3 separate regions of the Homo sapiens genome follow, and regions 2 and 3 are each linked to region 1. Evidence: promoter capture Hi-C in 16 types of primary human blood cells and fetal thymus (Javierre and others, 2016). All regions are on one chromosome and are shown on one strand. The core of a region is centred on a gene start or on the middle of the fragment in contact, and the rest is flanking DNA. Distances in the headings are between cores, read along the strand shown.

Region 1 (2,714 bases), core at 147-2,646:
TGGGTGGTAGGAAGGAAAAGTAAAGGTGATATGATAATTTGCATAGATTGTACAAATTTGTGCAATTTGTAACTGCACAAATTGTTCGTAAAGCATGTGTGTTTACATACGGTTGTAGGGTTGTGGGTTTATAGGAATTAAATATGTTTGTTTTGCCATTGCCAGCCGCTGCCATTGCCAGCCACAGTTTCTCAATTATAAATGAAATAATTATTTAAAAGTAAATGGAAGAATGAAATAGAACACTCATTAGATTAGAAAATTGTTGGTTTAAGTGTATTGATGTGCATAGTGTTATGTGCAAGAGTAAAAAATACATTATTTAATTGTTTCCCTTCCTCCTCTTTTATTTTCTTGTCTACCCTCTGCTATTTGATGCTGTGAATTCTTTAATAATGTATTCAAGAGTTTAGCTTCATTTAAGGAGAGATTTATACAAGTCAGGGTAACTAAACTCCAGAGACGAAATAGCTTTTAACCACACATTCTTTTAAAGGCAACAATATGGAATGCCAATGCCAAAGAAATAATCTCTCTTTTGCACTGTCCTTAAGAGTTCTCTCCTTCTCTTTTCCTCTCCCTCACTCTTCTCTTCAAAATTCATGCCCTCCAGTCTTTAATCTTGCCAATTAATGGGATAATACGTGGCCACGTACACTCTGAATTATTCATGGCCCCTTCATTCTTTTTGCCAAACACCTTGTCAACCCCTGGAGTGAAGTGTTGCTTGTATCCTTTCTGGTGAAATTGAACTAGACCAGACATCATTTAATGTGGTGTCCTGCAGGAATGAGGACTGGGTTTCTAAAGAGAGAAACATTCCATTGTAGAATGAGTTGTCGATGGTATCAAGCTACTTTCAAGTGCTCCCCCAAAAGAAATAAAGAAACACGCAGAAATGCCAGTACATGTTGAACTGACAAAGCCAAGTTTGGATCTTTTAAGTGCAGAAACACATTATAGGCAGTCTCAGTTAGCACTGATTAAATTTTAAAATGGAATTTGTGTAGAGATCAGTACAATTTCCCTGGAGTTTTAGAAAAACGGCTACAAATCAATTGCCAAGTACAGCACTTTATAATAAGCTCACATTTGTAAAACCCATTAATTACCATAAGAAGATAAAATATTTTATTATTGTTTCCTTTATGTTTATAAGGTCATACAATCTCATTTTACTAACAGGGTCAACAATAAATGGCATTCAAGTAAGAGAAAGTTTCTCACCCTGTACTTACTTTCAGGTCAGCAGGTGCGGCTGAAACATCGCTGTTTTCTTTGTCCATTATTAGGCGTTTTGTGTGTGATCATCCAGGGGTGTCTCAAAGCCAGTTTTTGCCCCTTATATGCTCTCTTGAGAAGAATTGAGAGAACCGTCACCGCATTCAAGCTAGCTTTCAGAGGAGTGGAATCAATTTACCTCCACCGGGTTCAGTTCAGAAACTGAAGCCGCCTCATTGCTATATTGTAAATGTTAAAGGGACCTAGCACTCAGCTTTGCACCCCAAACTCAAGGATTCTCAATGTAACTTTCATAGGAGTCAGGCCTCTCAGAGTACAGCCAGCCTCAAGGCAAGGTTTTCTTATAAGAAACACAATCCTACAATCCAGTAACATTTAAAAATCATTATAATTTTTTTCTTGCATCTCCTAAAGAATATGAAGAGGTCTAATTTACAACCCTCAGCACCACATCTGAGAAGTCCTCACACCTCATTTCTCTTGCGTGGCATCTCTTGCCTGCTCCAGGAGACTCACTCTTCAGTCCTGCTCTCAACTCTCCAGCCATACTCTCTGAGAACTCATAATCCAAAGGGACTTTTTTCCATTTAGCTCCCCCTACTTCTTGCAGTCAGTCCTCAGTAAACCTGGGGCCCTTTCTGCTGTAAAGCCCCTGTTTCCATCTCTCCCATACTTCCCAATGTCAATCTGAATTAGATCCATGGTGGGAAGAATAATCCAATCCTGAGGGGCAGTGTCAGAATTTCTCTTAGCAGACGGGGAGAAAAAGGCAGGGATTGCTGGAACCTCATCACCCTGTGGGCACTGGGTGTCAACAGAAAGCTGATCTGTCACGCTTTAAAGGAGAAACACTGTTCTGCTGATCCAGACACAAACTTCAGCATCATTCACGGGCTGTGCATATGGCAAGTGAGAAACTGCCTGCTGAAAGTGGGGAAAGATTAGTTGAGTTGCTTCATACCTGAAATTTGATCTAACTTGGGGAAGATGAGACAGAATAACAAAAAAAAAAAAAAAAAAAAAAAAAGAATTAAGTCATGTACAAATTCGCCTCTTGGGTTTTGTTATTTATTATTCACATTGATGAAATTATTAATAATGGTTTAGACTTTATAATATTACTTTTAATGGCTCATCTTTCCAGTATTATTTCTCTACCTATTTCTAGAACTAACTCATATTTCACCAATATAAGTAAAATTTGTATACTTATCGGTGGCCATTGACAAAGACTCTCTTCTTGACCAAAGTGTTGTCAGGTTACTCTGAGCTCTCTTTTCAACTAGACCTTGTCCTTGGGCCTTGTCTTTGGCCCATCTGGTCAGTTTAGCAGGAATCCCCCCGCCTTGATATCTGATCACCCTTGATTTTGCTTTCTTTTTCTTTTCTTTCTTTCTTTCTTTCTTTTTTTTTTTTTTTTTTTTTTTGATTCAAGAGTGGCCTTGAAATACCCTTGATATCTGATCAAGTTC
Region 2 (2,700 bases), core at 105-2,604, 350 kb after region 1:
ATACAGAGAAGCTTCTTAGCTAGTTCCCCTCCAGGATAAGAAGAGGTTTTTTTCTCTTTCCTGTAAATAAAGGCCTAAGCTAGGTGTTCTGACAGAGGAAAGGGAAAAGGGAGGAGAGAAAATCCAGTAAGTAGCAGTTTAAATTACATGAAATGGTGGGCTTAAAGGGAATTTGTACATTACACCCAACGGGGAAAGTGAATGAAAACACACCCCACCCTTGAAGACCAGTGTTCTGAGAGCTTACACACCTGCTAAAGCCTCATGCTGGTCTTTCTGTGTAGAGGCAGAATAGAGGCCAGATAGATTTTTTTCTGTGCCGGAGCCTTGCTGGGTGATTACTACATAGACCACTTAAACCACTGGGCTGCTTTTGTTCTGAGTCAATAAAAAGCCTCCTAGATGTCTGGTCTTGAAAAAAAAAATGTAACTTGTTCAGCCAGAACAGGTCAGCATGTAGTCCTTCAAACATCACCATCCTCATGGGTGCTCATGCATTAGAGTCCCGACATGGGAGCAAATGGCCTCAGATGAAAAGAAAATTACCCTTTATTACAACCAACAAAAGAAACTAAAGTTACAACCCAACACTGGGTCAATCTCCAACTCTATCAATGACTTTTATTCAAATGCAATTAAATGAATTTGGCATGACCTAATTTTTACAATTCTAGTATTGTTATCAGGATTTTGGGGGGCCATCTGCTTAACCTCTCTGTGACTGAATTTCTTCATCTGTAAAATGGGGATAGTAGGAGTATCTACATCATTAATTTATTATAATAATTAATTGGCTTTATATAAATCAAACAGCAATATCGGTCCCCTAGGAAGTGCTATATAAATATTAAATGAGCAAGCTATCTTTCTTCTGCTTCTTTTATTATTATTATACTTGTTCTTACTCTTAAAGCCTTGAGGCATCTTGAGAAGACTGCAATGCAGTTATAAGATTTTGTCTTACCTTAGGCGTTACTACTTGCTTCCTGCCTGTCCTAGTTTCTCCTTAACTAGAAATATAGATTTTTAAATATCTGTTTTTTATGCTTAAATTCTTTGTAGATATATTTCAAGATTCCATCTTTCCCCTCCTTCTTCTTTCCCTCCACTTTTATCATAAGGTGCTTATTCTGAACAAGACAGCAAGTATACAGAAATGACAAAACAGTTGTATACAGCAGAGAGAAACAGTCCCAATGGGGTATATCATGTCCTATAATGGAAATGTGCACAGAGGTCATACCTGAACTGAACTGTAATTGGCGAGGCAAAGCGAAGGTGGGTTATTGGAAGGGAGGGTGTTCAAAGACTGGAATTATAACAGGGATAGAACACTTTCTTTCACAGTTTTCTTCAAGCCCAAAATTGTCACTGGCTCCCTATGGTCTACAACACAAAGCATAAAGTGCTTAGCACAGTGCTGAAAATCTCTCTCCAACTGGCTTGTCTGTCTTTCCGTAACTTTCCCATTTCCTTCTCCTGTCACTTCTACAGGTGACCATGGCAGCCCTTCTCTGTTTCCTGAAGGTGCCCTTGTTTTCTCATCTCTAATTTTGGGCATTTGCTTCCCTGTCTCTGGAATGTCCTTCCCTCTTCATGTTGAAATCCTCCCTGTCTCTCACAGTCCAGCTCACAGGTGCTCTTCTCCTGAAGCAGTTCCTTACCCACCAACTAGAAGTAACCTTTCCCTTTCCAGGTCCCAGCACAGTTTGCTTGTTTCTTTATCATGGTACTCACCTCATTCTGCTTTTATTTACTTTATTTGAACTCTTGTATATCTCTTATAAGATCTACAAACTACATCTTGTTCATTTTTTAAAAATGTCCCACAGTAGCTATTATGATATTAGGTATATATTAAGTAATCAAAAGGATGTTTAATAATAATAGCTATATATATATATAACATATTTATTTCATAATTGGCAATATTCTAATCACATTGTATATCTTATTTAATTCTTTTTTTAAAGTTAATTTACATTTATCTTGTTTAATTCTTTTTTGAAATTTAATTCTTAAGTAACTTTGTTGTGTAGTAAAAAATTTAAACCTTACCCAAAAGGAGGTATGGTCTTCGCCCTCAGTCCTTGGGAGGCAATTGCTTAAGCCCTTGGAATGTCCTGCCTGATCAAAGTATCTTTATTTACCTGACAGCTTTGGGCCATAAGGGAAAGTATAAGGATGTGATTTATGGTGCAGGATTTGAGTCACATGGGCATGGGCTTAACCTCTGAAGGGGCTGGATACTTAGGTCAGCCATGTGGAAGACCAGAAAAGATTCTGGACACCAAAGCTCAGGTGAGCTTCCCTGGTTAGCAGTACTTTGTGTGGTACTGTCACACATCAATACGAGGAAAGAAACACTGTCCATGAGAAGAGGACAACTGGAAGCTCCACATTTGGAAATTTCCTGAACTTTGCTCCATGCACCTCTTCCTTTAGCTGATTTTGATCTGCAGCCTTTCAGAGCAATAAACAGTAACTATGAGTATAACAACTTTCAATGAGTTCTGTCAATCTTCCTAGCAAATTATCAAACAAGGGTGATCTTAAGGCTCCCAAACCTGTAACTGGTATCAGAGTGAGGGTAGTCTTCCAGCTTGTGCTTCCTCTAACTTTGCACTTTTGAAGTGGATATTATAATTATCTCAATTTTACAGATGAAAAAACTAACAGACAGAGGGGTAAAGCTTTTTA
Region 3 (2,856 bases), core at 330-2,829, 370 kb after region 1:
GCATATTGATTTAATGATATTGGGACCAGGGCTGTCCCTGGTCCCCAGAGCTAAGCCCCAGGACTGTCTTACTTCCCAGGCTGTGTACGAGATGGGGAAGGAACAGATCCCAAGCAGAATCAGAACACAGACATGTATTTGGTCGAGGGATATTGCCTAGAGGAGAGTGAGGTTATATGATGCTTTGAGTTCCACAGTGATGCGTCACACACAATTTTTTTTTCTGGCTGGGGAGTGGGGTGGGTGGAAAAGGAATAAGGGACTGAAATGAGGAGCCAAGTAAACGAAAGATGGGATGGAGTAGAAGCTGCTTTGCTTTATGGCCTCGTACCAGTAGAGTTTATTCCTAGTCTTTCCCAAGCTTCTTCACCCAGCTCAAGCCAAAAGACTGTATGATAAAGATCAGAGGAGAATGAGGAGATGCAACCAACATAGGTGGTGCTGGGACGTGACGACAGCAGCAGCAATTACCTCCAGGAAGAGTGACATCATTGCAGCAACTGGGGATCTTCAGGAGCCTCCAAGGAAATGGAGACACTGAGGCACACACTTGTGGACACATGATACAACTTACACATTCCTGACATCAGAAGACAGAGGATTGGGATCCACTTATTTTGTTGATTGGGGTAGAGCCGGAGACTATTGTTTTGTCATTTTTACTGTGACCATTCCCGGATTATACCCAGGTGGTGTGTCCTTGAGAAACTGGGTAGAAGAGAAGCAGAAGCTTAAGCAGGAAGTAGCGTTGTCTATATTACCTCATGCCCACTTGGTATTTATGGCCCACAACTGGGATTCTGTAATGAGACAAGAGTGAACGGCAGCAATGGCTGGCCATAAGATTGTTTCTCCCAGATTTGAAAGCTCGGTGTTCAGGAAGACCCTAAGAGCCTCTGTGCCTTTTAAGTTTATTGGACATTAAGTTTTTCTGGTATGCTTTCAGAAAATTTATTTTAACAGTAGTCGTTACTATAATACTTTTGAGAGGGCTACTAACAAGTGATGATTGTAAAATTCATTTTAATATCCATTCATTTCCGTCTACCACACCACATTCCAGCATCCTCTTCCATTTCTCCTTCCCACGCCACCTCCAATCCCTGAAAAGGAAATTGAGAGGAAATAAAGGCCTCAGAGCCTTTATTTTCTAGCTAGTTAGCTAGTTAGCTGCAAAGTCCCTGATTTAAGATGTTATAGAGCCACCTACTGGTATTCAAGGCTCACTTCAGGCACGTATAATATGTTCTGTCAGTGTCAATTATTCCTAAAAATGCCTGTAGATCACCAGCAACAGGAACAACTAGGAGTTTATGCAATATACAGATTTCTGGATCAAATGCCAACCCTCCTGCATCAGATCCTCTGGGATGGCATCTTTTCCTCCTGTCTTTAAAATGTTCTCCTCAGGGGATTTTTATGTCTCAAATGTTTGAGATGAAGGCTTTGAAATGTCAACAAATTTCTCTTTTTTAAAAAAGTTAAAATAGGTAGAATGGCAGAGTAAACAATTCTTATCCATGCTGCATATAACTTTATGCAATTAGGAAGACTATTTTGGCAGAGATAGTTGATCTCAACTAGCAGGAAAATCAATTGATCTGCCACCCTTACCTTTTTTTTCTCCAGGCTACCACCCCACCCCAAGGTTCCTAGAATTATGAGAATTATGTCTATTATTAGGAGACATTGTTGTATTAATGTGTATATTAGTAATCACTTGAGCTTCAGTCACAACAGAATGACCTCTGTGCATTTGTTATCATTTAACCAATCTAATCTTGGGAATGCATTCTTTTAACAACATGACTCTGCAATTTGGTGTGCCACTATCAATTGGAAATAGCATGATGCCACCTCATCCATGGAGTAAAAATTAGTAATATTATCATTACCTAATACTATCATTCTCTTCCAACTTTTTAAATATTAAAATTACAAGTTTGTACAAACAACCTTAACCAACAAAAATATTTTTTAATAAAGTAAATAAATTTCAATGTAAATAAAAGTAATGAATTTTTAGTGTGTCAACAACTCTCTCTGATCAACTCTCTCTGAATGTTAGGTTGTAGTCAAAAGCCCTTACAAATGCTTCTTGGCCTTTTGATGATTTTGTTTCAAAGGATTCTGATTTGCTTAAGTGTCTGTAGTTAACTCCCCAACTCAGCCACGTGTTCGGCTCTGCCCTTCCTAAACTGCAGAAACTGGTCATGGAGGAAGTTGTAGTTTATCTTAGCAACATCTGCACCCACAGCTTCCTCTTCCTTTGAGTAGCAGAAGTAAAAGAGAAAGTAAAATTTATGCCACACATCTTTCTGTTTCAGCCAAGTATAAAGGAGAATATTCTAGAAGTCAGAGTTAAGCAATATAATGAAGTAGAGGAGGAAGTGAGTTCCTATAACTGGAAGCATCCAAGCCAAGCTTGGCACCAATAAGACAGTAACATGATAGAATTGAAGCACCTGATGCTTGATTGAACTACATGAACTTCACGGTCTTTCCAACCGTACTCTGTTTTTTTCCCTCTGCCTGCTGTAGATACCTTTTGTCTTTGCACAGTTAAGCCTTTCTTTCCTTTTTATTGCCTTTCCTCACTCAAATCTTTGACTTCATTTGCTGTAGTCAGGACTAACAGAACTTCTATATAAATATGGACCTAATATTCTAAAATCATGCGGCTACCAGCAAAAGCTTGAGATTGTGTTTTGGGGAGTACCTTTATACTGGTAACACGTTCTAGCCTCTGGGGACACCTCAACATTTTCTCTACCCTCTCCCCGCATTCAGCACCCAGGATGAGATGCGCTTAGCTCAGGCAGTCAGGCTCAGAAAACACATAATGAAGCTCTCAGA

The links. The method cuts DNA at HindIII sites, captures the fragments that hold promoters and counts their contacts. A CHiCAGO score of 5 or more calls a contact.
Region 2: a contact is called between a fragment that was not itself captured here and the fragment with the promoter of TMPRSS7 in region 1, in 1 of 17 cell types (fetal thymus). The highest score is 5.5, in fetal thymus.
Region 3: a contact is called between a fragment that was not itself captured here and the fragment with the promoter of TMPRSS7 in region 1, in 5 of 17 cell types (M2 macrophages, erythroblasts, M1 macrophages and 2 more). The highest score is 7.7, in M2 macrophages.

What each region holds. Positions count from the first base shown.
Region 1 is chr3:112,033,418-112,036,131 of GRCh38, reverse strand. TMPRSS7 (transmembrane serine protease 7) reads right to left here and starts at 1,396. Exons shown (of 18, transcript NM_001395507.1): 1 at 1,239-1,396. The coding sequence starts at 1,286. The HindIII fragment of the contact is 8,291 bases long and covers 1-2,714 here.
Region 2 is chr3:111,688,099-111,690,798 of GRCh38, reverse strand. All of the region lies in intron 1 of PLCXD2 (phosphatidylinositol specific phospholipase C X domain containing 2), which reads right to left. Among named protein-coding and RNA genes, the nearest start is that of PLCXD2-AS1, 12 kb to the right of the region's middle. The HindIII fragment of the contact is 2,682 bases long and covers 14-2,695 here.
Region 3 is chr3:111,667,459-111,670,314 of GRCh38, reverse strand. No RefSeq gene overlaps it. Among named protein-coding and RNA genes, the nearest start is that of PLCXD2, 5.8 kb to the left of the region's middle. RefSeq lists an enhancer at 2,331-2,380. The HindIII fragment of the contact is 1,694 bases long and covers 733-2,426 here.